5 separate regions of the Homo sapiens genome follow, and regions 1, 3, 4 and 5 are each linked to region 2. The links are contacts of gene promoters, found by promoter capture Hi-C in blood cells and fetal thymus (Javierre and others, 2016). All regions are on one chromosome and are shown on one strand. The core of a region is centred on a gene start or on the middle of the fragment in contact, and the rest is flanking DNA. Distances in the headings are between cores, read along the strand shown.

Region 1 (3,853 bases), core at 1,275-3,774, 260 kb after region 2:
CATACTGCCTCTCAAGCTGTCCTTTCTTCACAGGTCACATTTAATAGGAAGGAATCTGTGTCTCTGTGGCTGTTATTTCATAGAATGGATCTTCTAAACTTGCCAGCCTACCAAGATCCATACCAGTATTTCTGGACGAAGGATTTAAAATTTTCCAAAGTTAAGAATTACTGCAACAGAATATGTTGTGAGGTGGTAAAAATACATTAACCAACTAACAGTGGTAGCTGGGATCAAGCATGAGTTCAGTTTATAACTGCTCTCTGGAACTTTTAAAACAACCATATATTCTGTATTAGGTGCTTTGGATTCTGAAAATAGAGTGCAGAGCTCTAGATCAGTGATTCTCAAAGTGTGGTCCCTGTACCAGCAACACCCACATGGCCTGGAAACTTGTTAGAAAGTACAAATTCTCTGTCTCTACCCCATACCTGCAGATCAGTAATTCTAGGGACAAGGCCCAGCCATCTGTGTTTTTAATGAGACCTTCAGGTGATTCTAATGCACACTAAAGCTTGCGAACCACAAGAATTTTTGTTTCTTGCAAAATAAAATTTTTGTTTCTTGCAAAATCCTAAATAATCCTGATGCTGCCAGTCTGGTGACCATGCTTTGAGAACCATTGCTGTAGATACTAGAAATAAAAAATAGGGCATAGGCCAAGAAAATAGCTTTTTGAGTCCATAAGATCCTGTTGAGAATCTTGATTTTGATGAGCATAAAATGGGCATTGTTGGACAATTTTACTTCAGAATTTAAATTTTAAGAATGCAGAGTACAGAGAATAATAAAACTACCATCTTGATACCAACCATCCAGCTTTAACAGATCTCAACATTTAGCCATATATATATGTGTGTGTGTGTGTGTATATATATATATATATTTTTTTTTTCCCCTAAGGAAAGAAGAGGGCAGACAGAGATCCCTTATACCCTTTCAGAGTCCCATTTCTGTCTTTCCTTCTGATAGAACCACTGTACTGAATTTGGTGTATATCACATGCATGTTTTTATAATTACAAGTTCTGCATACATCTGTAAACAATGTATGCTTACACATTTTCATACATAGCTTGTAACAGTAATTGTTCTGCAACTTTTCTTCAGACATTGTTTCTGAATGTTATCCATGTTGATACAATACAATTTTAGCTCATTTACATTACCTGTTATGTAAATATGACACAATTTATTAATCTATTTTCCTTTTAATAGGCATTGGATTATTCCTATTTTTTACTATTTTAAACAATGCTGCAGTAATCTCTTACAAGTCTCCATGTAGACCATACGACAGGAAATTTCTCTGGTATATGCACAGAGAGTAGCAGTTGAGAAGTAGGTTAAAGGCTTTGCTAGCTTTGCTAGATATTGCTAATTGCTCTGCTAAGGATTGTTCCTATTCACCCAATTGCAAGGTATGAAAATCCCATTTCTCTACATTTTTATCAAAACTTGACATTTCAGACAAATGTTGCCAAAGAGAGGCGAAATGCCTTCTAGTTTTTAAATCTATAATTACCCAAGTTCTAGGGAGCTTGAGCTAGTTCTCATGTTCTCAACATTTCACATTTCTTATTCTGTGAGTTACCTGTGATATCACTTATCTATTTCTTTTTTGGATTTTTTGCCTTTTTGCATAGATTTATAGATGCTCTTCATGGAATCCTTAATGTTTTATAAGTTGTGTTTCAAGTACTTTATCTCAGTCTATCGTTAGATTTTTAACTTGGTTCATGGATTTTGTTGAGGTACCAAAATTTATCAACTTAATATCAAATTTATCAAGGTTTTCCTTTAAAATTTATTCATTTTATATCTTTTTAAGAAAGTCTTTTTCTACTCTTGGGTCTTAAAGATGCTTTTCTTTTATCTGAAGTTCTGAAGCTTTGCTTTGTACATTTAAGTCTTTATCTGGAATTCACTTTTGTGTATGGCATGAAGTAGAGCTCAAATTCTATTTTCTCTTTTCAGGTAACAGTTGTCTCAGCACCACCCTTTTGTCATTGACTTATAATGTCACCTCTGTGATATACTAAGATTATTCTATGTACATGGGTCTGTTTCTGGGCTCTGATCTCTTCTGTTGGCTTATTTGTCTGTGTGTCAGACCCACATTGTCTTATTATCACGTTATACAAATAATATCTGGTAAGACGTATCATCTTACTCTGACCTTTTTCAAAACTATTGTGTTCTTAATCGTTCACTCTTCGAGGTAAATTAATGCAATTGGCTTGTTGAATTCCATGGAAATTTTTGTTTTTAAATTTCGATTGGCATTACATCGAATGTATTGATAACTTGAGAGAGGATTGACTCTGAATTCATGAACATAGTATATCTCCTTTATTCAGGCCTTCTGTGACCTTCAGTAATGTTTCACAGTTTTTCCCAAAAGGTTTTGGGTATCTTTTATTAGATTTATTTCTATATACACTATGTTGCTTTTTTGGATAGTATTGTTTTTCTAACTGGTTATTTCTGGCATAGAGACCCCCTTTGTTTTTTCCTTCGTGAACGTATTATTCTCTCCTTTTCCAGTAGATGGCAGTAAAGTACATTGAGCTTGTTATTAAGAATATTTTCTTTACAATGATGTCTTTTTACCCCTTAAAATGATTTATGTATTTAAAGATATTGGTTCTGAAATATTTCTAAATTATCTCCCTTTGTTCCATTTAGGAGGATAAAAAGAAGCGAGATCGAGACCGGGTGGAGAATGAGGCAGAAAAAGATCTCCAGTGTCACGCCCCTGTGAGATTAGACTTGCCTCCTGAGAAGCCTCTCACAAGCTCTTTAGCCAAACAAGAAGGTTGGAATAACTCTGAATTAACTATCCTGAATGAGGAGGCTGAAATCATTATAGCTCAGGAAAATGGTGGGGTTTTAGCTTCTAAGTTGGAGCTTTGTGATTGAATTTTTAAGTTTTTTCTCTCAAACTGCATAAGAGCTTTAAATTAGCTTCAATTTTGGATTAATACTCTCAAACTTCAATATATTTTTAAGATAAATGGAATTTCTGTATGAGATATTTAATAATGGTTGTAGAAAATGATCTAGTAAATAATACTCTCTAGAATACTCCTTTTTAAAATACCCTTTTCCCTTCTTCTTTGCTTTAGAAGTAGAACAGACACCCCTTCAAGAAGCTTTGAATCAACTGATGAGACAATTGCAGAGGTAAATGTTTTTCCAATATTTTTATAACATAGAAATTAAAATGGTAGATGTGTAGGATCCAAACCACATTTGTGCCTAACTCCAAACATACGTGATTTTAAAGTGAATGATAAATATTTTGCCTGGCAGCAGAAGTACTCCAAGAGGCTAGGCTAACTTTTAGATATTCTTTATTTGGTTTGTTTCCCTGGCAACTTGAAGGGTGTTACATAATACTTTTAATGACAAATTTCTGTCTCTAAAGTAATTTCTGATGTTAAAACTTTAAGCCAGGAATAAACAATACAGATATTTCCACTTTGCTAATAGATGGAAATACCTTCTATGTATTTGTACAATGCTTATCATGCCACAAATGTTTAGCAATTATTAAGTATGGGAGAAAAAATAAAACACCATAAATAGGAATTATGGCCTTCTTTTAAATGCAGAAATTGGTTCTAAAAATTTCAGTGCCTAGATTAAGCTACTGTTGAGTTCTTAAAAGGGAAAAGAATAACTCAATCTTTATTAAAATATTTATTTTGGGCCGGGTGTGGTGGCTCACGCCTGTAGTCCCAGCACTTTGGGAGGCCGAGGCGGGCAGATCACGAGGTCAGGAGATTGAGACCATCCTGGCTAACATGGTGAAACCCCATCTGTACTTAAAAAAAAAAAAAAAAAAATTG
Region 2 (3,723 bases), core at 935-3,434:
TGGAGAGGCTGGTGAAGTTAGTAGTACCACACATTATTCCATTAAGTCCTCTTAACACTGTGCAGGGTGTGCTACTGTTGGCATCGTACAAAAGAGGAAACTGAGCTTAAAAACCAAAACTGATTATGCCGTTTCCCTGCTTAAACCCCTCCAGTGGCCCCCTTTCCCCTAAGGAGGGGTCCAAAGGCTTCCACGACCCGGCTGCTGCCACCTCTCAGTCCCGTCTCTCTGTGGAACTGCTTTCCCTTTTCTGAGCCTGCCATGCTCTCACGCTGTTATCCCTGCCAAGAACACTCTTTCCAGCTCTGCAATTCCCACTCATCCTTCAGGTCTTCAGTTTAAGCCTCCCTTCCTCTGAGCAGCATGCTGTCACACCCTCAGGGCTAGGTTAGGCTTCCCTGCTCAGTGAGCCTTATTACACCATCATTATATCACTCATTTAATCATCAGAATCTTCCATCAGCCCAATATCTATACCCTGAGATATATATGTCTATAGTGCAGTGTCTATCACACTATAGGTGCTGCATCATCAGCAGCATCATCAAAATGAAACAACGGTAAGTAGCAGAACCAGGATTTGAACCCAGAAGTTGTGGAACAAAGAGAACTAAATCCCAGTTTCCCAACTCCTCAACCACTGGCCTGTCCACTCTCTCAGACCACAATAGCTGACACCTGTTCCTGCCTGTCCAGCAATCCTTCTCCTCCTTCTGATGATAGCATCTGGCTTTCCTCCCCAGAGCTACTCATCCCCCACTCTCAGTCTATCTAGTTTATGGAGACTGATCCCACTCCAGGGTCACACTGCACTCAGTACCCCTACCTGACCCAGCTTGTTTCATCCTGAAGGCCACGTGGCTGGTCCTAGGTCAGTATGAAAGAAGAGTTTATGAAGAAGCTAATGAAGCTAGGCTTCTGGGCCCTCTCACCTACACGGGCCCTTTCCAAGTCAGGATGGGTCTTTGCAAGGTGTTTATGTGGTCATATGTGTTTGTATTTGTAACATTTTCCAAATTAGGCATTTTATCCTCAATCTATTAAGATTGTCATCTAACCATTCTGACATCCTTTGCCTGTGTGAGGTGATACTAGGGGAAATACAGGCATTTCTGGACATGAGCTAAGGAGAGACTGAGTTGGTGAGATATTTATTTTGGTTTGGCCCCAGAAAGCTTCAGGTCCCATAAAACCTAGATCTACCCTGGTCAAGTGACCAGTAAAGTGGTCAATAAAGTGAGTCCAACATGTGCAAGAACCCCTGTGACCTGGGAACTTTCTTCCACCTGACAGGGCTGTGCTCATAGGATGGGAGTGCCCAGAGCTGGGAACTGCCACCCTTGCCCCCTGTGGGGGAGAAGCCACCAGGGGACAGAGGGAGAGATGATGGAGAGGGAGAGAGAGGGGCAGCGAGCGAGACATGTGTGTGAATGTGTGAGTATACGTGTGTGTGTGAGTGTGTGTGTGTGCGTGCATGTGTCCATGACATGGTTTTAGCTCCAGAATCCAAACAGGCCTTTTTAGGCAAGATCTACCCTAGGATTTTTCAATTTCATGAGCCAAAAGTTTAAGTGAGTTTCCAAAAGAACCGAAAGAATCCTGACTTAACAAATCCGTCTCTCTGAGATCCTGCTTTTTAGGAAAAACCACCAGCACCAGCACCACAGCAGTAATTCACTCACCCAGGGCAGTCCCTCTAGGGTGATTTCCAGCTTTTTCACCTGTGGGTGTCTGCCCCTTCCTGAGACCAGAAATGCCACCAGGGACTTCTTCTCCACCATCCTGCCTCCCAGCTGCATTTTACTGCCACTAGATTTTGCTTATGGACCAATTGTAACTGAGGGGAAACAAAAAAGGGGGAAAAGCGGGTAGGGGAGGAAATCCTTCTCAACAAATAACATTCTGGCCTTTTTTTCCTCATCAGAGCATAAGGCTGGTGGCCACTCGGCTTTGACATCTGAACAGGATTGAGACGAAACATCTGTTCAGGGAGGGAGGGGGAAGCCCCGGGAGAGAAGGGGAAAGGGGAGAAAAAGCCTTCTGTGGGCTAAAAATATCACGTCCCTTCCACTCTCCCCCGCCCGCCCCCACCCAAGTTAAAACATGTGATGAAATTCGGCTTTTACAATCTAACCCCGAGCTACTTGAAACTATTAAAGCCTCTCCGGTATCTGACACAAGTCAGAATTTCCACTGTTCCAGCTGAGCTTTTATGAGGAGCAGACTTGAGAGAAACTGCCAAGGTAACAAAGTCCGCTTGTTCTCTGTCACCGCTGCAACTCAGCTTCTGGGGGGACTGTAGGGGAGTGGAGAGTCAGGGCCGCTGACACCCCCCGACAGGACAGGCTCTGAACTGAGGGAGAGGAGCCGGCGGGGCATGGGCACCTGCCCCTCCATCTGGGGGTCCCTGCTGCCTTCCCATGAACTCCTCTTCCTCCCAGCCTTCCTGGGAAGCCACCGCCAGCCCTGTGTATTGAGGAGCCTTGCCCGAGAGTCCCGGGCAATGTCCGTGGCTACTTCCTGAGAAGTCTTGACTCGCTCTCTCTCTCTGTTTCTTGCCCAACTGCTCCTTGAACCCCAAGCTCCAATCACCAGGTATCCCACGGCCTCCTCGGTACCTCTCCTTGGATGTTAAATGGGCATCTTGAACCCAACTGGTCCAAAAACGGGAGGCTTGATGGTCACCCGCCAAAACCTCCACCTCAGAAGTGACACCGCCAAATCCTTAGTTCCTGAAACCAAAAGTCTAAGATGCATCCCTGATCTCTCTCGTTCCCTCAACCCCCTTCTCACCAGCTCCAACCTCCAGCCCCATGGACCTCTCCCCAGCCCCAAGCTCCCAGGCTAGGCCAGCACCATCTCCTCTCGCCTGCGACCCTGCAGTCACCTCCTGGTTTCATTGCCCTCTTCCTCCCTGCCCATGGGCAGTCCCTCCCAGAAGCCAGAATTAACTTCTTAAAACAGAGGTCAGAATCCAGCAGTCACCCACCCAACCATCTGGGCAGAACCACGCAACCTAAGGGCGTGGTCCCACACTTGCCGACCACCCCACTCTCATTCCTGATGCCACATCGGCCTCCTTTTTGTTCTTCCCCAAACACCAAGTTCCCTCCACTCTGGGGTTCTGCTCACTCATAGCTGCTCTCCCCCTACATTCTTCCATGGCTGGCTCCTTCCTGGCATCTGCATCTCAGCTGAAACATCACCTTCTCAGAAAAGCCTCCTCACTCTACCTCTCCCTGGGTTTTACGTCTTAGCAGAGAACCACTACTAGAAACTTCCATGCTCCTTCGCAGATTTATGTATTCATCCCTGCCTCCCTCCTGTGAATGTCGTGACTGCTGGGCCTGCCTACCTTGCTCGTGCCTGTGAACCCAGGGCCCAGCAGAGCCCCTAGCTGCAGCAAATGCCCAGCACATACTGAATGGTGAGGAGTGAGGGGCCAGATTCTGTTCTCAGTCTGCTGTGTGACCCTGGACAGGTCACTTCCCTCTCTGGGCTTCAGTTTTCCAACTACAGATGAAAGGAAGTACAGGCCTCCCAAGTTCCTTTGCCCAACATCTGACCCCTGGGAGCCTGGACAGACTGGCCCAGGCCCCAACACAGGTACACAGGTCCTGCCTGAGAGGCCGGAGGGAGGGGTCACCTGCTTTCAGTGAGGCAGAGGGAGAGGTCACCTGCTTTCAGTGACTACAGGGTATTGACTTTCCTTCTTCAGTGAGT
Region 3 (3,618 bases), core at 445-2,944, 310 kb after region 2:
CGGCTACCCAGCCCAGCCTCACCCGGGTACTCCGGCTGCCTCCATCCGGTTGGCCAGGGACACGTCGTGGGACCACACGTCATACTGCCACTTGCGCAGCCCGATGACCCCGCACAGCACATTCCCCGAGTGTATGCCCACACGCATGTTGATGTCCACGCCCGTGGCCTCCCGCACCTGCCTGGGGCAGAGTGGCCCAGTCACCCCAGCCCTGCCTAAGCCCTGGGACAGGCTGAAGCTCCCAGGTGTGGGGTGGGTACAGGGCAGCATGTGGGAACAGGGCAGGCGCTCAGCCCACGGGAGAGAATGTTCTCAGCCTGATGGGGCTGCCTCTTCAGGAAGAGCTGAGTGCCCCATCCCCAGGAGCATACAAGTAGGTGTGGCCACAGCTGACCTCAAGGACTAGGTAGGAGGGAGGAGGAATTCCAACTAGTCACTACAGCCCATGTTGATGGACCTAAAATACCATCACTGGGTGTTTTCCCTGCCCAGCAGCACCGGCTGGGTTTTAAAAGTTTACTGGGGGCCGGGCGTGGTGGCTCATGCCTGTAATCCCAGCACTGTGGGAGGCTGAGGCAGGCAGATCACCTGAGGTCAGGAGTTTTGAGACCACCCTGGCCAATATGGCAAAACCCTGACTCTACTAAAAATATAAAAATTAGCCGGGCATGGTAGCAGGCGCCTGTAGTCCCAGCTACTTGGGAGGCTGAGACAGGAGAATCGCTTGAACCCAGGAGGCAGAGGTTGTGGTGAACCGAGATACGCTCTGGGCAACACAGCGAGACTCCATCTCAAATAAATAAATAAATAAATAAAGTTTACTGGCGTCTACAGAGGGGGTCCAGGAACCACCCAAAACCTAGCATAGACAAGGAACACAGGGGCCCAGACCATGGGCACCTTCTATGCCCCCCCAATCCCTGGGAAGCAGGGGCCCTGGGAGTTGTTAGCACCACTGAGCACAGGAGCAGAGCCCCACGGGAGAGCTTCCTTGGGGCACAGGGGACGCCCAAGACAGGAACAGAGCCTGAGTCCCCATGACAAGCGGCACCACGTGTCCACCAACAAGGCTGGGCACTGACCAAGCCTTCCAGGGTCGGAACCAGAGGTGCACGAGGGCCTGTACAACCTCCGCCTGTTACAGGGCAGGGGCCAGCCTGAGGTCACACAGGCAGTGGTGCAGGCCAGGCCCCTCCAGCTCTGCCCAGGCTTCTTTCTGGCAACACCAGCCACCTATGGCAGGACTTCAGGAGAAGGACAGGCTGGAACACGGCCTGATATCCAGGACGGGCAGCCCCACCGGGCCCTGCTCTGCCCCACACTGGTCAGCCTGGCTGGGCCTGCCTGGCCCTCTCCCCATACAGCCCTCTCGGCAAATTCCTCCCACAGACCCCAGCTGCTCAGAGCCACAGGGGACCTAGAGGGGAGCGGGGGGTCTCCCCGCAGCCTCAGGACCAAGCCTGACTCCAGGATCTTCACTGGGGAGCAGGAAGCAGATGGAGCCTTGGAGTCGACCCCTGGGTCGGAAAGGTCCCCCGGCTGCCTACCCTGAAGCCTCCTGCTGTTGCTAAGACCCCATCCTTGAGGGGAGCGGAGCCCACCGCCCTGACCTCACATCACCCAGCTCTGAGCTCCGGAGATGCTTTCTGGGACTCAGAGTCACAGGCAGCACCACAGGGAGGGACGCAAACAGATGAAGTCTGAATCCTCCAGCAGGCTGGGTGGTCCAGGCAAGCTGCTTTCACCCCCAACCCCCCGAGCCTCAGTTTCCCCATCTGTGACATGAGAATGACACATCCCCTACCATGCCCAGGAGGGTCCGCCACAGGGCAGGACCCAGGGCCTGGGCCCGCCCAGGACCTACTTGATGGCCTGGCACATGTCCAGCCCCATCTTCACGCAGTTCCGGGCGTGGGTAGGCAGCGACACGGGCAGGCCCGATACACAGTAGTAGCAGTCGCCGAGGATCTTGATTCGCATGCACTCGTTGGCCTGCAGGGTGAGGGAAGGGCCTGGTCACTGGAAGATGTGGGGCTGGGACCTCTCACGACAGCCGCCTCCCCCCACCCTCCAGGGTGCACCCGGCTCTCTCCTGGCTGGGGGCTTGCCTCCTGGGGTCCAGTCACCAGGAGCCACTTCTGGGCCTGGCAAAAGGCTTAGCGACATGGGGGCCTCCCCAGGAGGAACCCCCAGGCAAGCACCAGAGGTGAACACGAGTGTTCCTAAGGGCCTCGGGGAGGGGTCTGCCTTGGTTTCATTTGCCCAGGTAATGTTTGAGTGCCTACTGAGTACCCGGCCCCAGGCCAGGCAAGGGGACACAGCAGTGAACAAAATAGATGCAAATCTCTGCAGCCACGGAGCTTGCACGTAGGCAGGAGGGGTGGGCACTAAACTAGAAAGACAAAAACAAAACAGTGTGCCCAGCTGTGATGGGGGCTAAGGAGAAAACCAAGGCACAGGAGGGAAGTGATGTTCCCAGGAGGCCAGCGAAGACCTCTCAGAGTTGGAATCAGAAACATTTGAGCTAAGACCCCGAGGAACCGAGAGAGCCGGCCATGCCAGTCTCTGCAGGAAGAGTACTCAAGGACTCACAGGAGCCCTGGGGCCACAAAGCTGGGGAAGAGACTGCGAGGTAGCCAGGAGGCTGCAGGAGTGGGGGGTGAGGACAGAGGTCACAGGTGTACACACCAAGGGATCAGCAGGTTTCAAGGTCACCCAAGCAGTGGCTGTGCTGACAGGGCTTAGGGGTGGGGAGGAAAGATATCAATGCAGAGAGGAAAGAGGGAATGGGGAGGGCAGAGTAGGAGAGCGGCGAGGGTGGGGACTCATAGGAAAAGGCCCAGGGAGAGAAGGGGACCCCCGAGAGCCCTCTGAGGTTCATCTGAGGCACTGCTGCGTCACCAGACCCTCCTTAAGCCCTCAGCAAGGGTGGCCACATGCACCGAGGCCTCATGGGTGGGGCTTTAGGGGAGCTGAAGAAGGAGCGCCATCTGCCTCTGCTCTCCCCTCCCCACCCTCTACCCCACTCAGCTGACCCTCGGACTGGACGCCCCAGCAGGTGGCCCTGTGCTCTGGCTTCTGGCCAGGAGGGAGCTAAGAGGGCTCTGTCCTGCAGGCTCACGAGGGCTAGGCCTGCTCCTGGAACACCATCTGTCTCCAGGACTCGAGCCTATCCTGTCCTCGTCCCTACTCTGTGCCCATCAGCCATCACAGACCCAGGCCCCAGACACAGCACCAGCCCTGCCTCCAGGTCCCCTGCACCTGCCCAGCCTGGGAACCATCCCTGGCCTGTGCCCTCCGCCAATTACTCAGTTTCAGCGTGTGCCAGATGTTTCCTGCTGGGCCCCATCTGGCACATGCTGAGTGAGTTCTGAGTGACTGCAAGGACAAGAGGACAGTGGCTTTCCTAGAAAGCAGGCAATCTTGGCAGACCTGGATACTAGGCTCCAGCTACCCTGATCTCCTCTCGGACCAGGCACAGGACTGCCCATGGACCCAGCCCAGCTCTCGGGGATGTAGGAGAGGCCACATTCCCCCGGCTGCTCCACCGGCTGACAGTCCCCTGTGTCTCTGACACTTGGAGTTGGGGAGCTGGGTCTTGTGCGGAGGTGTGACTTG
Region 4 (3,755 bases), core at 101-2,600, 290 kb after region 2:
TTAGTATCTGGAACTTTGTTTTTCTTTTTAGCTGAACAAGTGACCAATAATCTTAAAGAACTTGCACAGCAAGTAACTCCAGGTGATATCGTAAGCACGTATGGAGTTCGAAAAGCAATGGGGATTTCCATTCCTTCCCCCGTCATGGAAAACAACTTTGTGGATTTGACAGAAGGTACGTGCCCTGTTTTCTCTGGGAAAGCAGAAAGCTATGGTGACTATAGTCATCCCTCAGTGTCTGCCCGAGATTGGTATCAGGACCTCGGATTTGGTATTTACCCCACAAAGATAGCAAAATCTGTAGATGCTCAAGTCCCTAACATAAAAGGTATTTGCCTATACCCTACACACAACCTCCAGTATACTTCAAATCATCTCTACTTATATACTTCATAGAATGTAGTTAATAGACTGTATTTTTTATATTTTTTTCATTGTTTGTTGTATTTTTTTAATTGGGTTTTTTCCCCAAATATTTTTAATTGGCAGTTGGTTGAATCTGCAGATGTGGAACCCATGGATAAGAAGGGTCAACTGTAAAAGGAACATTTATCTGTTTTTAATGTATAAACTACTCTTAGTTTTCTTTTTATCTTGTCTAAAGAATTAATAAAGATTTCCTGTGTGCAGAAGAGCCACAATGATCACCTGATAATGCGCGTAGTCTTCAGCCTTGGATGTGGTGAAGAAGGGCTCTCAGCAGTTATGCTTCTGGATGGCAGCTTGACTTTCATGTCCCCTTTTTAATTAAAAGGTAAAAACAATGTTGAATTAAGTGATGTCTTTTTCTTTCAGACACTGAAGAACCTAAAAAGACGGATGTTGCTGAGTGTGGACCTGGTGGAAGTTGAGGCTGCCTGGTATTTGATTATATATTATGTACATACTTTTTCATTCTTAACTTAGAAATGCTTTTCAGAAGATATTAAATATTTGTAAATTGTGTTTTTAATTAAACTTTGGAACAGCGAATTTGGATGTTCCAGAGGTTGGACTTGTATTAGGTAATAAAGCTGGACCTGGGACTCGTGAGGAAGGAATGTGCTTGGGGCTGTTGCCATACCTGTGCAGCATTCTTTCAAAATAGTGCCTTCCAATGCTTCTTCCTTATGTCCCACAGACAGGATCATCACTAAGAAGCGTTCTTAAAACGGCCCCATCCAGTGAGATTTTCCGTTATACGAACATACTTGAAATAATTTTAGAATTTACTACTGTGGTTCTGCCCCTGCATACCCAGTGGGAATGATGCCCTTGTATGGGTAATTAGGCACCTCCCACCCACCCCTGACAAAAGCACACTGGGAGTTTTATAGCACTGTCACATGGCTAGTGTTCTTTTTTGGTTTTTTCCGTTTTTTAAAGAAAGAGGAGTTACTTAGTACTATAGCAAAGTAATAAGCCAAATAAGATAAACTAAGTCATCCTTGAATAGATCAGGGAATTACCAGATTACCAAAAGGTGACATTTCTACTTTACTTACTGTTTATCTGAAATACAAAGGTCAAGTACCCAAGGAGTTGAACTCTAAGTAGGAGACCACAAGATTCATGGCCCCCTTTTATCAGCAAGCTGAGATAAATGGTGATTTTGCTGAATCGGTATAGAACCTGTTATACACAAGGGAAAAAAATCAGGATGGAGATAGATAGATAGATAGCCTTGTTCAGTGAACAAATTAAGTTTGAAGGCCCTTATACAATCCTTCTATAAATCACCCAGGCAGGAAGCCATTTGATTTCTATTATTTTCCTGACTTTGAAAATTAATTAGTATTTAGGAAGAACAAATAGGGTAAAGGAAAATTAATTCCCTCAAAAGACTTAAAATCTTATGCTAAAAGAGTCAAATTTTCAAGTTGTTTGAGTCTACTTTTAATCTCTAGTGAGTTCATGAGGACCACGAAAATAAAATACCTTCAGATATTTGAGTTTTTCAAATTGCTAATTTAATGTATAAAAAGCAGCTAAACACTGGTACTTTATAAAAATGAAACAGCATTTTGAAACAAATGTTACAGATCTATAAATATTCATTATATAGAATAAACCCTAGTTACTTGCATGCACCACCTCAAATCATATTTCTTTACACTGACCTATTATATACACAAAGTATACAGTGGTTAATGATCTTCTCTTCTGTTTGTTTGTTTGTTTGTTTGTTAGGAAATTTCCTCAATAAGCCAGAAAACCTTAGGTATTATTTTCACAAAAGTTAACTCAGGAGAAATTGTAAGGAAGTCCTTGACCCATGGAGAAGGTCACTGTTTGTTTGTTTGTTAGATACGTGTGTCTGTCATAAAACAAAATGACACCAGTAATTACTTGGTAATTTAAAAACAAGTTCATAAAAAGAAAATACCTGCAGGTAATTTTTATGGTCAGTTATATTCTATAACCTGAACACTGAAAACTAAAAACTTTTACTTACAAACTATTATTATCTGAGCACAGCACAGTGCTTTGCTTTAATTGGAAATAAAAATGCATGAGTGAGTGGTAGTCAGTTATTTGTTAAACTCCCAACTGGGGTTTCTGTTGTTACTGAAGAAAAAAACAAATATTCCAAGAGTACAAATATGCTGACCTCAGAGAGGCCCAGTGCACTAATGTGTTTCTATGTTATATTAGCAACAGAAACCTTCCTGACTTGCCAGGAGAGCCCCCGCCGGGCAGCCCTGGTCACTGCTAGATCTTGAGAGCACAGATTTCAGTATAGTATTCATGTGAAACCAGCCCTTCATGTAAAAAGTTTTGGTGTGTAAAAAAGGCAACTTAAGCGAGGCTAATTGCCCTTACCAGCATTGTTGCCATGAAATTCCTTTATACAGCAAGTTCTTCTATTCATACTGATTCCACTTATGTGCAGCACATGAGAGCTGCCACTAGTCTACCCAGCACCTTTGTGCAAATTAGAATACACCTGCCCTTCCTCGGGCTGATAAAGCCACACGACACAGCACAGGCAGACAGGTTCAATTTTCGTTCCCTCCACCGCCACCCCCGCACTTAGCTGTACTCTTAATTTGCAGCCCGGGGCAACTCATCCCAGGACCCCAACAAGTCTGGTCAGTCACCCAATCTGCAACCCTGTATAATCATCTTGTAAAGGCTCCTGTATGCAAGACTTTGTGTAGAACTTTACGGGGTTCATGGGGACACCTAGCTAAGAATCCCTGCTATGTAGGGAAACTGAGTGCATTAGAAATCCTGGCGATGCTCTGGTGATGAGGCCACCGGTTAAGTCTTCCGGTTATGAAGTCCATTCAGAAAAAGTCACGGGCAGTTTGGTCATTTCTCACCCTGTTGTTACAGTTAGGTTGACTTTCAATTCCTTGGGAAGTTGAAGCACAGTAAGACACATCCCCAAAACCTGGCTTTTTGCATTTGCCTTGACTCACGCAGTTTCAGAGCAAGAACGGCTCAGCATTTGTGAGGGGGCGGGCTTCCCAGATCCAGGAGCCTCTGCATGCACCCATGCGGAGTAGATCCTTCTAGTTTTGAAGCTCTCCAGAGTTAGCTGTGAAGACTAAAGGAAAGAAGAGATGCACTCACAGGTTGTCCAAGTTGTCTCTAAACAGACTCCATTCCTTTCTGGTAAGAAAAGTAAGATACAGTTGAAGGACGGCAGGGGAGAACGCAAAGATGTGTGAGTAATCAAGGAAGAGGTGAAAGGCCGCACCTTACTTTCAAAGCACCTCTCTCCAGAATGCTTGCCTCACAAGCTGCCTCATTCAAAGGCAAGGCTCTGC
Region 5 (3,844 bases), core at 767-3,266, 330 kb after region 2:
AACAAGCCGGGCACCGTGAGGCCTGGGGGGAATGAACTCACTGATCACATCTCCAGAGGGGGCCCAGGAACCCACCACCAGTGGCATGTCCCCAGGCCAGCTCCTCCCTAGGAGCCACCCCGCCAAAGCCAGACCCAGAGGCACCCCCTGCCCGGGAAGTTTTCAAGGCCTCCTGTCCAATCACCAGTTCTTCCACCAGCCCTCGACTCAGTTGGCAACAGGGAGGGCCTCCCCACAAGGCCCTGGATAAAGGAATCCTTCTGCCATGTCTGAGACACATCCAATCCAGGGCTCCCGGATTGAATGACCCTGCTGTTAGCTTGCACACCTCCATGACGGGGGGGCTCACCACCTCTCAGGGCAGTCTCCTCCATCACTGGGCACTTTTTCTGGCCCTGAGTCCTCCCTTAGCTCAAGGCAAGCCCTGCCTCCCTGTCACTCCCTCACCCACACCGCATGGGTCCTGTCTGAACTCCAAAGCCACCAAGAGCAGAGGTATCACGTCCCCTCTTCCTGAGGAGACTGCAGTCCCAGGGGGTCCCTTACTTACTCTCACCTCACGACCACCCCAGTGGTAGAGCAGGGTGAGCAGCCCCATTTTAAAGAAGAGGGGACTCCCCTGTGGGGAAGGTGTCCACATGGGAGGAGGGTATTTCATGCTTCTGCTGTGCAATGTCCCTTCTCCCGACCCTCAGTACCCTGGTTCATGGGCCACATGACCCCAGTGTGGCCAATCAGCAAAGTCCCTCTCAAGCCCTAATGCCACAGGCCTGGGAAGTGAAGGCTCTCTTTGGACTTCTGCTGACCCAGGGAAAGAGGCGTTCTCTTTTGTCGGTGACCTGACACTGTCAGCAGACACCCGAGCCACCACAAGGAGAGAGCCCACCTGAAACTGACACCAACATGGAGAACTGGCACAAGACAGGGGCCTGGCAACACCTCCTGGGGTCACAGGAGCCAGCTGTGCCTGAAGCTTACGCAACCTCTAGATATTTAACCACATGGGACAAGCAATGCCCCTTTCAGCTTCAGCCAGTTTGAGCTTCTGTCACTCGCAACCAAGAGTCTCAAAGTCCACATCAGGCTTCTGGACCCAGTTTGTTGCGTCTAACAAGCACCCGTGGCCCCTCAGTGGGTTCAGAGTCAACTGGAAGGGTCTCAGTCAGCACAGAGGTAAGAGTGTGCCCCTGCAGACACAGCCAGTCCTCCAGAAAGGAGCTGGGTCTTGGAGGGGACAGCCCCGCTCATCCCTCCATCACACTTTCCAGGCTCCACAGCCCAGCCCCAGCCAGGAGTTCAGGAGTTTAAGACCAGCCTGGGCAATATAATGAGACCCCATCGCTATAAAAAGTTGTTTATTTTTTTTTTAATTAGCCAGGCTTGGTGGCATACACTTGTAGTCCAAGCTACTTGAGAGGCTGAGGCAGGAGAATTGCTTGAACCCAGGAGGTCAAGGCTACATTCACTGAACTATGATCATGCCACTGCACTCCTGCCTGGGTGATAGAGAATCCTGTCTGGAAAAAAAAAAAAAGCTGGGATTTAAACACAGGATATCCGGGGTCCCTATCACCCTCATGGGGCTGGCATCCAGAAATCCCATAATATCCCAAAACACCAACCTCTTCCCTACAAACAAGGCCCAGGACAGAGCTATGACCAAGAGGTGGGGAGCTCAGGGGACCCCATCGAATTACTTCCCTCTGCCTTGCAGGAGCAAGTTCAGGCCAGCGAACTCCAGGAGGGCCTCCTCCTCCAGGAAGCCTGCTGAGCAACCCCACACACACTCCCTTATCCCTTCCCTGCAACTAAGGCAGGACTGTGGTCTCCTTATCAAATACTGGCTGGCTGGGTCCAGGTTCTCCAGCCAGAAGACCTGCTGGAAGCAAGAGGCTGGGACTCCATACTGCAACTGCAGGGCCAGGTCCCTGGGTGCTCGGAAAATCCTTCCCCAGTCCAGCTGATCTGGCAGCGTCCCCAGCACAACCACAGCCCTTGCAGGGAGTATGTTCTAGAAACCCCCAGCTTTCACAGATGCAGACAGGACACCCACTTCCTCACCCGGCCACTGTTGGCAGAAACCACAGCCTGGCTTCCTCCGGCCGAGCCTCAGCAGGCTCAGGGCTGCTTTGGGGCCCTGTTGGCCTCAAAAAGGGGAAGTGGGGACCTTGGAGTGAGGGGGGCATGGAAGCCTCCAGGGAAGAGGCCCCGCTCAGGCCCCTGGGCCCACACCCTGCCTGGGACGCCACGCAGCTCCAGACAAAAAACCTGCATGCTCCGTCTCGCGCCCCCGGTCCTGCCGGCTCTCGGCTCCCCTGGTAGGCTGGGTCTCAGGCAGATTTTTCATTTGCCAAGGGAATCTCATATTAACGCGAACTCTCTCAAGAGACCCTGAGCTCCATGAAGCCAGCAGCTGCTCTGCCCAGTGCAAGCCTGACCTAAGAGGCCCCCAGTAAACCTCGTGGGACCCAGGGATTCAATGTTGCTGGTATTCAAGGTCCCATCCCCCCAAGCCCAGCCCTCTCTGTCCCCAGAGCCCTGTGGCCCCCATGCCCTGCTCTCCCAGGCACCTCCCGTACCAAGAGGCCTTCCCAGTGTGGGTCCAATATCCCGGCCCCTGACTTGCCAAACTGTCGTGGTGGGATCTGTGTGTGTGTGTCCCGCAGCTGGTCCTGGCAAACACCTGTGACGTGAATGGCCGAGCAGGGTAGCCAGCCAGAATCCTGCACCAGGCCCAGGGTGGGGAAGCACGCAGAGTGGCATGGGTGAGGGAGGAGGGCGCCACAGCCAAAGGATGAGGGCAGATGAAGAAAGGGCCTCCCTCAAGATCGGGAAGCACCTGCTGCACCTGCCGCACCTGCCTTACCTGCCACAGCACACCTCTCCCAGCTACGCTTGGCCTCTGGGAGGATGCCTGCACCCAATCCCAGCTCTGCTACCAATGGCCTGTGAATAGCAGTCGCCTGCACACTCTGGCCTCAGTTTCCTCATCAGTAAACTGGGGGTGCTGATAACCAGGTTGTCTGCACAGGTCATGATGTCCAACAGGCCAAGCTTGCAAGACAAATTGGCAAATGGCCAAGAAGGCACGCTTAGTGTCAGAGGAAGCCCTGCAGGGTCAGAGCCCAACCATGGGGTCCAGGGAGAGGCAGGTGCAGAGTGGGCAGGCCCCCCACCGCATCTCCTAACAGCCTGCAAAGTTGCCGAGCAGGGGCAAAGACTGAAATTCCCCAACGGCATGAGCCCCCAGCCAACCCTGCTCCCCCTCCATAGCCCCCAAGCACCCCCAGGCTGACTTTGTTCCCACTCCCAGGGCACAGGCTGCTGATCAGTCTTGGGGACCAGAAACCTGCATTCCAGTCCCAGCTTAGCCACCAACCTGCTCTGTGACCCTAAACAAGTCTCTTGCCTGACCTGTGCCTTAGTTTCCCCTCTTGCAAAGGAGGGGCTGTGTCAGACCTCTGAGGCCAGCTCTGGCCTAGTTGGGACTGGGCTGGGGGTGGAGGCTGAATCAGTTAATGAAAAGGATAGGCAACTGGAGAAAAACTGAGGGAAAAGGCTGATGTTCTCACCTGGCCCCAGAGAGCTACTTCTAGGGATGGGTAGAAAGTTGTTCTTTGATTCTTTGGGACACAGCTAGGGTAGTGTTAAGAGGGAAATTCATAGCACTAAATGTCCGAATCAAAAACTTAGAAAGATCTCAAATTAACAACCTAACTTCACAACTGAAAGAACTAGAGAAGCAAAAACAAATCAACCCCAAGCCTAGCAGAAGACAAGAAATGACAAAAATCAGAGCTGAACTGAAGAAAATCAAGACACAAAAAACCATTCAAAAGATCAA

Evidence for each region. The method cuts DNA at HindIII sites, captures the fragments that hold promoters and counts their contacts. A CHiCAGO score of 5 or more calls a contact.
Region 1: a fragment that was not itself captured here is called in contact with the fragment with the promoter of NKD1-AS1 in region 2 in 10 of 17 cell types (naive CD4 T cells, non-activated CD4 T cells, activated CD4 T cells and 7 more); the score reaches 12.1 in naive CD4 T cells.
Region 3: a contact is called between a fragment that was not itself captured here and the fragment with the promoter of NKD1-AS1 in region 2, in 7 of 17 cell types (naive CD4 T cells, non-activated CD4 T cells, total CD4 T cells and 4 more). The highest score is 9.3, in naive CD4 T cells.
Region 4: a contact is called between a fragment that was not itself captured here and the fragment with the promoter of NKD1-AS1 in region 2, in 3 of 17 cell types (naive CD4 T cells, non-activated CD4 T cells and total CD4 T cells). The highest score is 6.9, in naive CD4 T cells.
Region 5: a fragment that was not itself captured here is called in contact with the fragment with the promoter of NKD1-AS1 in region 2 in 3 of 17 cell types (naive CD4 T cells, non-activated CD4 T cells and total CD4 T cells); the score reaches 7.1 in naive CD4 T cells.

What each region holds. Positions count from the first base shown.
Region 1 is chr16:50,353,757-50,357,609 of GRCh38, reverse strand. BRD7 (bromodomain containing 7) reads left to right here. Exons shown (of 17, transcript NM_013263.5): 3 at 2,688-2,817; 4 at 3,128-3,185. Among named protein-coding and RNA genes, the nearest start is that of BRD7, 13 kb to the left of the region's middle. The HindIII fragment of the contact is 1,265 bases long and covers 1,892-3,156 here.
Region 2 is chr16:50,612,111-50,615,833 of GRCh38, reverse strand. NKD1-AS1 (NKD1 antisense RNA 1) reads left to right here and starts at 2,184. Exons shown (of 3, transcript XR_007065197.1): 1 at 2,184-2,243. All of the region lies in intron 4 of NKD1 (NKD inhibitor of Wnt signaling pathway 1), which reads right to left. The HindIII fragment of the contact is 2,641 bases long and covers 1,178-3,723 here.
Region 3 is chr16:50,297,278-50,300,895 of GRCh38, reverse strand. ADCY7 (adenylate cyclase 7) reads right to left here. Exons shown (of 26, transcript NM_001114.5): 8 at 1,865-1,992; 9 at 23-181. Among named protein-coding and RNA genes, the nearest start is that of MIR6771, 6.5 kb to the right of the region's middle. The HindIII fragment of the contact is 4,762 bases long and covers 1-3,618 here.
Region 4 is chr16:50,316,307-50,320,061 of GRCh38, reverse strand. ADCY7 (adenylate cyclase 7) reads right to left here. Exons shown (of 26, transcript NM_001114.5): 26 at 1,927-3,755. BRD7 (bromodomain containing 7) reads left to right here. Exons shown (of 17, transcript NM_013263.5): 16 at 32-175; 17 at 796-3,755. The coding sequence ends at 851. Among named protein-coding and RNA genes, the nearest start is that of MIR6771, 26 kb to the right of the region's middle. RefSeq lists an enhancer at 1-968. The HindIII fragment of the contact is 7,497 bases long and covers 1-3,755 here.
Region 5 is chr16:50,280,404-50,284,247 of GRCh38, reverse strand. The region is part of intron 1 of ADCY7 (adenylate cyclase 7); the gene reads right to left. Among named protein-coding and RNA genes, the nearest start is that of MIR6771, 10 kb to the left of the region's middle. RefSeq lists an enhancer at 1-314. The HindIII fragment of the contact is 2,081 bases long and covers 976-3,056 here.